Linked DNA regions of Homo sapiens: region 2 is linked to region 1. Evidence: promoter capture Hi-C in human tissues and cell types (Jung and others, 2019). All regions are on one chromosome and are shown on one strand. Each heading gives the region's core, a stretch centred on a gene start or on the middle of the fragment in contact. The rest is flanking DNA. Distances are from core to core; before and after follow the strand shown.

Region 1 (5,713 bases), core at 1,511-4,010:
TTACAGGTGCCTGCCACCATGCCCAGCCAATTTTTGTATTTTTAGTAGAGACGGGGTTTCGCCACGTTGGCCAGGCTCATCTGGAACTCCTGACCTCAGGTTATCTGCCTGCCTCGACCTCCCAAAGTGTGGGGATTACAGGCGTGAGCCACCGTGCCCAGCGAGAATGTCCCCTCTAGAATCCTTCAGCTCAGACAGTCTGTGACAGCGAGCCTTTTTTGAGGCCATAATCCAGATACTTCTGGAAAAGAAAAGAAAATTTCAGGCTAATATGGAGCTGGGTTTTTTAGTTGTCTTAAGGGGGTGGAGCCGTTGTTTGTGCCTGGCAGCATCAACCCTTAGGTCTGGTGAGGGAACTTAGCTAAGAGAGTTCCCACTGCCTGCTGTTCACAGTACATGCTGGCTGGTATCGACAAAGAATGAACCTAAAACACAGGAAATGTTGAATTTGTCTGGGTTAAATTTTGCCTCATGAGAAGATAAAAGATCAGAAGGATTTAAAATGTTCCAGAATGCTTTGCTGGTTTTAAGGAATCATTTTTCCCAAAGGTGGCAAATGCTGCTTTTTAAATTTATGGTTTTCTTGATACCCCTTCAGCCTTTGTTTCTCTCTCTTAGGACTACTACTTTTTAATTAATTTTCACTTAACTTTCCAATACTGATGAAATAAAGAAAAATGAGGGTTATTTATATATATTTTAATAAATCCAGTTTGATTTTTCAACTTAAAAAAAAATTAACTAGAACTGAGAACCAGTCCTGGCCTCACCACCTTGGACTTACACTTAACCTGTGTGATCTCAGTGTCTTCATCTGCAAAATGGGGACAAAATAGCTCATAGGATCATTTTGTAAGGATCACATAAAGTAAGAAGGGTGAAAGTGCTCCATAAAGTAGAAAGGGCCTCACTAATGGAAAGGGATTATGATTTCTTTCTTTAAATGTGAAGTTAAATGGAGGATAAAGGGTGGAGGCACTGATAACATTTTAGCCTTCAATAATCACTTTTTAATATTTATGAGGAGTTTCAAAATCATTTCCCTCTCTTTCATACTGCTTTTCAAACGGCAAGGGTCATTATTTGTCCGGCCCAGTCTGGGATAAGTAACTATCCCAGGGTAAGACACCAGGTCAAGTGCCAAAATACAAATGAGAATTAAGCATAGCAGATGGGTGATTGCTGGGCCCTGAATTTCCTTCCCGTTAGTGAGCTTCATGGAATGCAGGCAAATTTATCTCCATTTCTGTTGTCAATCTTGTAACTTTTAAGTGAGATGAAATTCAGTTGGCTACCCTTTACAGGGACTTTATTTCCCATTGTATTCAAGACTGTCAGCAATGAATATAAACTGTTTGTAAAAATCCCATCGTTAGAATCTTCCAGAAACTGAGGCTGGGAGAGATTAAATATCTTGCTCATGGCCTCACAGCTGGTGAGTGGCAATGCTGGTGCTACAGCCCATGTCTAACTCTGACCACACACTCTTCTTCAGAAAAAAGCCATAATGTAAATAATAATAAGAAGAATAACAACAACAATAACGGCAGCTAACACTGTGTGCTAGGCACCGTTCTAAGCTCTTTGCATGTGTTAACTCAACCAGCAAAGAACCATTTTTGGAACATTCTTTCACTAAAGTAGCCCGGTATTTTTTTCTTTCCCCTCAGCTGAATGACACTGCAACCCGAAATCACAACTCTGTTTTAGGTTCCTGGTGGTGCCTGCTTCCTCTTCTAGTTTGTTTAGTCACAGAATTCGATTCCTGTTGGCCCATTCCGCGCCTACAAACAGGCTTAGCGCTCCACTGAAATGCGGGAGGCTCCTTAACTCTTGTATAAACAGGTAAGGCGGAGGGGGTGGGGCGCGGATTGCGGACATCTGGGTTTCTTGGGAATTGGGATGGGGTGGGGGTTCGAGCCAACTCCCCAGAGAGCAGGCAAGGTGAAGCGAGGGCTTGGCTGCTGTTTCTAAATGCAGTGTTTTTTTGTTCCCTTTCTAGAAACCCTCCGTAACTCTAGGTCAGAGCGCACTAAAATGAGCCACTTCTGAACGAGCAGCGCCCAGGCCCCAGGCCCTGCTGCGAAGGCCCCGGCAAAGGTCAGGGCCCCGTCCGCGTGACGCTCCTGCCTGCGCGCGGCCAAGCCATGCTCGGCCCCAGGTAAGGACGCCCCGGGAGCTCGCCCCGGGAGCTCTCCCCGGGCACGCGGGGGTCGCAGAGATCCCACCTCGTCCAGCGACTTGTTTATGGGGGGAAGAAGGGGAGCGGGGCGGTTCCGATCGGCTTGAAATTCAGCAGCAGGTTCCTAATTTCTCCAACGTGGTTCTGGCTGGGTTTCTCGGAGCAGCCCGAAGGGGGCCGAGCGTCTGACTCGGACAGATGCCCCCAGGTGGAGCAGGTGCCACTTCTGGGTGTCTGAAAGGCATGTGACTTTTGGGGCGGGGAGAGAAGTCCGTCTGGTCAAGTCCCCCAATCTCTGCCATCAAGGCCGATTTTCTTTGAACCTTCAGCAAAGGTATCTGCGCTCCTAAAAAACAACAGGAATGTGGCACTGGCCTTTAGCCAGGGGAGGCTCAGCCAGCAGGATAAAATTTCAGGGCAGATTTACGGGAAGTTGCCGGTGTTGGGAGTAAAAATCTGGTTTGGTGAGTTTAAGGGAAGGGAGTAGACGAGAGACAACCTTGCTACTGTGAGGCGGATGGCCTCGGCAGGGGGCGGGCGGCGGGAGGAGAGAGGGAGGGAACCGGGAAGGGCCCGCAGACTAGACGCTGAGCGCTCCCGTGCGCAGCGCCCCACGCAGCCGGGACGCGGCGCCGCTCTGCGGGTGGAACCGCCGCGCGCTCCCGGCCTCGGGAGCTGAGCCCGAGAGAACTTCGCTGCCTTCGGGTCGCCGCTCCCGCTTTCCACTGTGGAATGTGCAGCTTGGGATAGAGAGAAACCAGGGTTTGGGGAGCGGTCCTCCTGGAGACTTTCTCTCTGCAAGTCTCCAAGGTTAAGCAATTCTGACCCACTGGAATTCCCAGAGCCTGGGAGTTAAGCCTAAAACGCTCTGTTGCTTTAAGCGGCGCGGTGGGGAGTCGCTGGACACTCCTTATTTTGGTTTTACATTAAAAAGAAGGCGGACGAGAAGATGTTGTAGGTGACTTCCTAGCTGTGTTAAGTTGCTCCTGGGCTGTGAATGGTGTTAATTTCTGAAGTGGGCGGCTCCAAAAACTTAACAAGGAAAGGTAAGGTGGTTTTTGGTAGTCCTTCTAACTATTGTCCCTTAATCTTACATTTGGGTCCCAATTTTTGAAGTGTATATTTTTTTCTTATTCTTCTCTCTTTAGCTCTTATCCCTCATGCTATCACTCATCTTCTGTCTCTTGGTATATTTAGTGGGAAATAAAGGGTTTATAAAACGGTTTTAAAAGGGTCAACCTCTGGGAAGGCAGATAATCATATACAGTCAGTCCCATCGTGTTTCCTGTAGTGATGAATCTTTTCCCATAAAAGAAACTGATTTTTTTTTTTCACTCTTGAAAATACATGATTGGACCGCCCAGAAGCACAGGTGACTTTAGACTCAGATTATTACAGTGAGACTGAGGAAGCGTCCTGGACAGGAGGCATCTCATTTAAGTGTTAACCAAGGCAGAGGGGGGTCTTCCTGCAGTAATTTACGTCTGAAAGTAACACTCGGTAGAGGTGTAGTTGTTTCAAATTAAAAATTCAGCCTGTAGAAAAGGGTAGGACTGACGAATTATGACATCTGACAAATTAGCAGTTGACCGGATATTTAAGAAATCAGATAAAATAAATGGAAGTGGAATTTTTCAAATAAATGACTCATTTTTTAATTAGGTAAAAGTTCAGCCACTCTTGGGTACTGTCCCAAGGCATAAGTGATAGGAAGATACCATCTTCAAGGTACTTACAGGCCATTACCGACCTGAACTAAAAATCAAACCTTTTTTTTTTATCTGGTGGTATTTTAATGACTCACTGTTTTCTTTAGCAGGAATATAGATTTTAAAATGTATTCTTTAAAAGTTTTAAGGCAAGGTCATACGAATTTCTCAGGGGAGGGAAAGCAAAGGGTTGACAACCCAACATGAAGGAGTTGCCGAAGTTTTGAGCTCAAAAGGTTGGCAATTAGATCCAGAGCATTTGAGAATTGCAGGTGCCGATTCTAAAAGGTGAAAGGTGGTCAGCGGCGTAACACACAACCTCTAGATAAACCAAAGTACTCAACCTAGAGCATAAGAAGAGATCACTTTGTGGGAGTTTGTGTTGCTATTAATTTAAACAATGATCTTTGTTAGATCAATGACTTGAAGTCTTGGAGGGAACTAAAATCAACCCAGTCTGAAAGGAAAACAGAAGGAAAAAAAGAAAGGAGGAGATGGTTTGGTTTTTAATATTTTTTTCTGGTCTGCTTTACCCTTCACCTTGTTCTGATATACACACTGTTGGCCTCTTTGACTTAATTATTGCATGCTGGAAGGATGGGGTCTCAGAAATTTCCCAAGCACCTAGCTTCATTATTAACTTTCAGTATGTGTCAAATGAAGAAATAAGCCTAGCTGTGCCGTCCTTTACCTGGCTAGGTAGGCCATGCTTTAAATTAATTAGATCAAGATATTCTGAATATCAATCAATTATTAAAGATTTATTATCTTCCTCTTGGTTTTTGCGTTTACAGAAGTTTGTAGGATTGAGAATTCATCATCATCATTTTTTTTACCAATCTCTATATTTTTAATAGTCAACATATTTATTTTTGATTCCCCCACTGTGCTGCTTTAAATTAAATTTTGAAAGAATTCTGCCCAAAGCAGTAGTGATACTGAGGATGAAATAAAGACAGAAAGCAAGGGAACTACATGCTTCTGGACACGTGTTCTATAGACTTGCTCTAACTAGTGTTAAAGACTACTCATTTTTTTCCTCACATGATAAGAACATTCATATTAGACTATTTGGTTTACTGTTCTAGGTAATGATTTTTTAAAAGATTGGGTTAAGATGAAATTATTTTCTTACAAAAGGATTTAATTTGCTTTTCAAATTCTGCTCTGAAGCTCAAGATTAAATCATGTCCCAAATGACTGAGCTTTCATTGCTATAGAAAAGCATTTGGCTATTTCAGTAAGTTTCCGCCTCCACATCTTAAGTCTCTTGATTTTTCAGAAAAGGTCAGGGGAGTGGATATAAGCGTGAAGGGAGGGAGATTTTCTTAAAATTGGACCCAGGCTCAAGTGAAACTGTGATTAGGTAATCCCAGAAGATACATAATTCTGGGGAAAAAAAACTCTGAAGAGGGTTTAAGTTTGGGATTCATGAGACTTAGAAAAAGGGTATGCTTAGAATAAAGGTAGAATTTGTGTGCCAAACTTTGATGAAGTTACAATGAAGACATTAAATGCAGCTTTAAGTGCTTGTCACCGTGATTCCAAGCTACAGGTTATATTGCAGTGTTTCAGCTACTGGCCTGATTAGGAGATATATTTTCTTTCCCTCTTGGGAACAGTCTCTGTGTCTTAATGATGATGCTGATTTTCTGGTTTAATATCATAAAAGGTGTGTGTTGGTCCCAACATTACTGCTCCAAGTAGTGGCTTCAAAGAGCAACTGGATAAAGATTTTCAATAATAGCAATGCAGAGATGACCTGGGTTTCAAGATAGGAGGCCTTTGGAGCCTTCAGAGAATTGTCATAGAAATGATCAGT
Region 2 (6,153 bases), core at 3,279-5,778, 240 kb after region 1:
TGTTTTTCTTCATCCTTCCATCTTTCTCCCTCTCCGCTAGCTCTTCAACATACGGATCAACTTGGCTTCTTCTGTTAAGTCTCCTTCCCTTTCTTCTCACTTCTCAGATCTTGTCTATTTCTACCTATTCTCCTTATTCTCTCTGGTCACAAAAGATCTACCAAACTGAGCTGTCAATGATTCTTCTTTAGTGGGCAAGGGAGGTAGTTATTTTAAGGAATACTCACAGTAACTTATCATTGATAACGGTTGCAGTTTAGTGGAGAAACATATCAGATCCATCTCCAGCAAGGAGAAGGAAGCCACACCAGTTATTTGAATAGGGAAACTTTAATATAAAAAATTGTTTACTAGTAGAAGGTGATTAACTACCAAAATGAGTAAGAGAGGCCTCTAAGGGGTTCAAAAGTAGCCAGCGCAATAAAAAGAAGCTTCTACCCGTAGGCTGACAAGAGGAGACAGAGGAGGAATTTAGGACTTAGGAGATCTCTTTAAGAGAGTTTGGCTACTATAAGAACACACACCTGTCACTGGGAGAAACTGGCCGCATAGACTAGAGCTGGTCTCTAGAAGCAGCCCTCCATTGTCAGAGGGGGTGAGCAGACCAGAGCTGCTTAAAAGTCACAGTAGTGGCCAGGCACAGTGGCTCATGCCTATAATCCCAGCACTTTGGGAGGCCGAGGCGGGTGGATCACTTGAGGCCAGGAGTTCAAGACCAGCCTGGACAACACGGTGAAACCCTGTCTGTACTAAAAATACAAAAACTAGCTGGGGATGATGGCATATGCCTGTAATCTCAGCTACTCGGGAGGCTGAGGTTGGAGAATCACTTGAACTCAGGAGGCGGAGGTTGTAGTGAGTCAAGATTGCACCACTGCACTCCAGCCTAGGCGACAGAGTGAGATTTCATCTAAAAAAAAAAAAATTCACAGTAGGAAGAGCAAGGTGTGAGAGTGCAGCAGAAACTTTGTTCACATGGGTTGTTAGGCTCTCAGGCTAAATAATAATAATAAAGGGCCAGAACCTAGAAGGCGATGATCTTTCTGCAGCTATGTCCTCTCGATGTCACTCCAGTGCCTCATTGATGAAACCTAACATTCTGCCTCCTGAGTAGCTGGGATTACAGCTGATGAGAAATGTTTCCAGGGTCTGGCTCTGTTATCACAAGGCCATGTAAATTGGAACTGAGAGACAACATAGTGACAAGTGGCACAGGCGCTCATCAGTCAGCGTGGATGTAGGTAGAAAAAACATGACACCCTTACTGGGTGCGTTTTAGTTGAGTATCACTCCCAAGTTGTACAAAGATGTTGTGTTGCTCTAGACTCTGTCTCAGCTTTCTGCTGTATCCCTAGAATTTTGATGGTGGAAAAGCCAGGGATACGGGATATAACCTATATTCAAAATCAAAGAGGCCTAATAGGGACATAGCTGGTGATCGAGTGGGGTTGGGTGAGGGGTTTGAAGGATAATTTTTATTGAAATCATTTATAAAATACCAACTGTTGTCCAGACATTGTACTAGATAACGTATATGTATTATCTCGCTTAAAGCTTATGGCAGTCATGGGAGGCTGATGTTATCATTCCTGTTATTCACATGAAAATATTGAGCTTTGCAGAGCCTAAATAACGTAATGAAGTCACATAGCCAGTAAGTGCTGGAAAAGGGATATGAGCTCAGGTCAGCTTGATCATCACCAAAGCCTGCTTGATTTATCTGTCTCTTTGGGAGATGTTTAAATGCTTACCATTCTGTGAATTATTGCTTTATGTGTTCCAAGGCTATCTTAGGTGCATATTTGTTCATGATTCTTGATTTACAGTTCTTTTAACCAACATTTAAAGTGCCCCGTGTCCCTCATGATCATTTCTCATCTTAAATTCTATTTTATCTGTTGCTACCCTAGCTTTCTTCTGGTTTACCTTACTTGTGGTATTTAATTCCTTATTTTCAAATTTTCTATACCCTTTTGTTTTAAATACATCTCTTGTAGATAACATATTACTGGATGGAATTGGGAAAGATGGTTTTATTGATATTGTTGTCATTTTTGTTGTTTTGTAAATCTGAGAAGTTCTGTCTTCTGCTCTTTAATTCTAAGTCTGTACACTTTTTTATTTTATTTTATTTTTTTGAGACAGTCTCACTCTGTCACCCAGGCTGGAGTGCAGCGGCGTGATCTCCGCTCACCGTAACCACCGCCTCCTGAGTTCAAGCGATTCTCCTGCCTCAGCCTCCCGAGTAGCTGAGATTACATGAGCCTGCCACCACACCCAGCTAATTTTTGTATTTTTAATAAAGACAGGGTTTCACCATGTTGGCCAGGCTGGCTGAGACCTCTTCTTAGAAAAGTGAAATGGAAGATGGGGAGTCGGATTGTGAGGACACTAGCAAAGTTAGAGTTATCAGAAACAAAGTCAAATGAAGTAAATATGGAAAAACATGGTGTTCACAAATATTAAAATGTTTATGATTCTGTATCCCAGTATCACATGGGCTTCTTTAGCAGGTGTGCTAAGTGTCTTTTTCCAGTGTTTATGTTTTTTCCACCCTGTTTTCCTGATGGTCGTATTTGAGGGTAAATCAAATTCTTTTAAAACAATTGAACAAAATATGTTCCAACGCAATTTAAATCTAGTAATCACTCTTACAGAATGATTGAATGTACTTAACCATCTTTCTTCTCCCAGTTCTTGGGCCTGCTCTTTGATATCAAAGCCACTCCTCTCATCTGCAAAAGGGAATAATGTCACTGAACTCTATACTTCCAGAACAATTCATCACAGAAAAAGAACCGGAAAGACTGGCAACGGGGCAGTCTCGAAGAGTCATCATGCATTTGGCTGCTTTATTATTTTCCTTTGGTAGTCTCTCCATTTATGAAAAGTCCTAGAGATTGAAGTTTGGAGTTCTATTGACTCGCGCTTTGGTTCACTAACTATGAAAGGTTATTTTGCATCCTTTCACAGTGGTTGCAATCCCTTACAGAGAGAGAGCATTTTCCAGGCTGTGAAAACTTTCACATGTATTACGGCATTTACAGTCTTCCCTTGCCACTGGCATTCTGCAGTTGGGAAAATGGATGCTCAGAATAGTAGAGTGCATTTTTTGAGATTATTACACAGCTAGCCAGTGACGGAACAGGGACTTGAAGCCAGGATTTCTGACTCCAAGCTCAATACTCTTTTCACTTTTGTTGTTGTTGTTGTTTTGTTTTTAGTTAAAAAAAAAAAAAAGACCTGTAGACCTGCACACGGTCCAACCCTCCCCTAACTCTCTAACCTCATCTCCAGCCACACTGGCCTCCTCTCTGTGCCTCAATCACACGCAGCAAGCTTGTCCTTGGGGTCTTTACGTTTGCGGTTCCCTCTGCTTAGAAAGCATTTCCTCAAGACAGCCACATGGCTCACTCCCCCGCCTCCTTCAGGTCTGTGTTCACATAACTCTTCATTAAGAGGCCTTTCCCAAGCACTCTGTCTAAAGGAGCACACACACCTCTCCCCATCACTCTCTGTCTCCACGGCCCTGCTTCATTGTTCTTCATTGCTCTGTTGACTATTGAGTCTCATCCCCTGGAGAACATAAGCTCCATCATGACAGAGAGGTCTCCTGATTTGCTCATAGGTGCATCCCCAGTGCCTAAAACAGTGCTTGACACAGAGGAGGAGCTGGGAATGAATGAACAAATGAATGATCCTTTTCTGAGAAAATGTTGGCTCAAACACCTTCTCTTCTGGGTCCATAAGACTAAACAGGTTTTCATCAACCAAGATAAATACAACTGAGGGCACTAGTACACTTTTTCTTTTTCTTTTTGAGATGGCGCCTCGCTCTGTCGCCTAGGCTGGAGTGCAATGGCGTGATCTCGGCTCACTGCAACCTCCGCCTCCTGCATTTTTTGAGACAGAGTCTCACTCTGTCACCCAGGCTGGAGTGCAGTGATGCAATCTTGGCCCACTGCAACCTCTGTCTCCCGGGTTCAAGCGATTCTCCTGCCTCAGCTTCTCGAGATAGCTCAGACTACAGTTGTGTGCCACCGTGCCCAGCTAATTTTTGTAATTTTAGTAGAGACAGAGTTTCACCATATTGGCCAGGCTGGTCTCAAACTCCTGGCCTCAAACCATGTGCCAGCCTCAGCCTCCCAAAATGCTGGAATTACAGGCATGAGCCACCACTCCCAGTAGGATTTTTTTTTAAAGCAGTTTTACACTCACAGCAAAATTCAAAGGAAGCTATAGAGAGTTCCCACATACCCCTCCCCATACACATGCATAGTCCCCAGTGTATCAACATTCCCTTCCAGAGGGGTCCGTCTGTTACGCATAAACCCACATTGATAGTTCATCGTCACCCAAAGTCCACAGTTTACATCAGAGTTCACTCTTGGTGGTGTACATTCTGTGGGTCTGGACGAATGTATAATAGCATGTATCCACCATTACAGTATCATACAGAATATTTTGCTGCCCTAAAAATCCATTTATTTTTACATTTATTTTTCTTGGCCAGGCAGTTGCTCACACCTATAATCCCAGCACTTTGGGAGGCCGAGACAGGATGATCACTCGGGCCCAGAAGCTCGAGACTAGCCTGGGCAACATAGGGAGATTCTATCTCTACAAAAAAAAAAAAAAATTAATTAGCCAGATGCAGTGGCACACACCTGTGGTCCCATCTACTTGAGAGGCTGAGGCAGGAGGATCTCTTAAGCCTTGGAGGTTGAGGCTGCAGTGAGCCGTGACTGTGCCACTGCACTCTAGCTGGGTGACAGAGCAAGATCCTGTCTCTAAAGAAACAAAAAAACAAACAAATAAATAAATAAATACATTTTTCTTACAAGTAACATACTGGAGAAATTTAGAAAAACATTTTTAAAATTTTTATTACTTCTGATAACTCACAGAACAGGAATATCTTAAAAGTAAAATGAAGGCTGGGCACGGTGGCTCACGCCTGTAATCCCAGCACTTTGGGAGGCCAAGGTGGGTGGATCACTTGAGGTCAGGAGTTTGACTCCAGCCTGGCCAACATGGTAAAACCCCGTCTCTACTAAAAATACCAAAAATTAGCTGGGCATGGTGTCACATGCCTGTAGTCCCAGCTACATGGGAAGCTGAGGCAGGAGAATGGCTTGAACCTAGGAGGCGGAGGTTGCAGTGAGCCAAGATCGCACCATTGCACTCCAGCCTGGGTGACAGAGCAAGACTCCATCTCAAAATAAAAAAAGGAAAATGAAGTCAATAATTTCTTAGGCTGGGTGCAGTGGCTCACGCCTGTAATCCTAGCACTTTGGGAGGCCGAGGTGGGTGGATCACCTGAGGTCGGGAGTTCGAGATCAGCCTGACCAACATGGAGAAACACTGTCCATACTAAAAATACAAAATTAGCCGGGCATGGTGGCACATGCCTGTAATCCCAGCTACTCAGGAGGCTGAGGCAGTAGAATCACTTGAACCTGGGAGGCGGAGGTTGCAGTGAGCCGAGATCGCACCACTGCACTCCAGCCGGGACAACAAGAGTGAAACTCTGTCTCAAAAATAATAATAATAATAATAATTTCTCGTAATCCCCCTCCTTAGATATAACAACTGCTCAAAATTTTATGAGTTTCTTTATAGTCTTTTTAATATGTTATGCTTTTTTTACTCATATATACAACACTGATGGCCTCCCTTTCATTAGTCACATTTTTGATCATTTATTTCTATAAGATACTGCTCCAAAGTTTGCACCCAACTGGATGGCCATTTTTAAGCTGTTTTGAGACATATTGCCAAGTTGCTTGCCAAAGAGGTTGTACTAATTTACATTTCCTGCAGCAAGGCATGAGAGTACATATCTTACTGAGCCCCACTGAGCCTCCCTCCCCTCTCCTTCCCTCCCCTCTCCTTCCCTCCCCTGGCCTCCCCTCCCCTCACCAATGCTGACAAAAATTACACAGAAAACATGTTAATCAAGTTACTATGTAAAAAGATGAAATCAGCTGCTCCTACTCAATGACCACCTTACACTTCCCAGAGAGGCAATGAAAAAGCAAACGATAAAATCTGACCAATGGAGGTGCCCTCTTAGTCTATACAGTGCATTTCTCATTACCTGCCTTGTTTTATGATCACTACATACCTGCTCCCCAATTCTCTTATCCGATC

What was found. Contacts are between HindIII fragments. The study calls those that stand out against the background at their distance.
Region 2: a fragment that was not itself captured here is called in contact with the fragment with the promoter of RBM47 in region 1 in 2 of the 25 tissues and cell types used here (IMR-90 fibroblasts and heart left ventricle).

The regions. Positions count from the first base shown.
Region 1 is chr4:40,626,911-40,632,623 of GRCh38, reverse strand. RBM47 (RNA binding motif protein 47) reads left to right here and starts at 2,760. Exons shown (of 7, transcript NM_001098634.2): 1 at 2,760-3,228. RefSeq lists enhancers at 2,897-2,966, 2,149-3,026, 3,027-3,903. The HindIII fragment of the contact is 13,848 bases long and covers 1-5,713 here.
Region 2 is chr4:40,385,716-40,391,868 of GRCh38, reverse strand. No RefSeq gene overlaps it. Among named protein-coding and RNA genes, the nearest start is that of RBM47-AS1, 37 kb to the left of the region's middle. The HindIII fragment of the contact is 4,161 bases long and covers 2,448-6,153 here.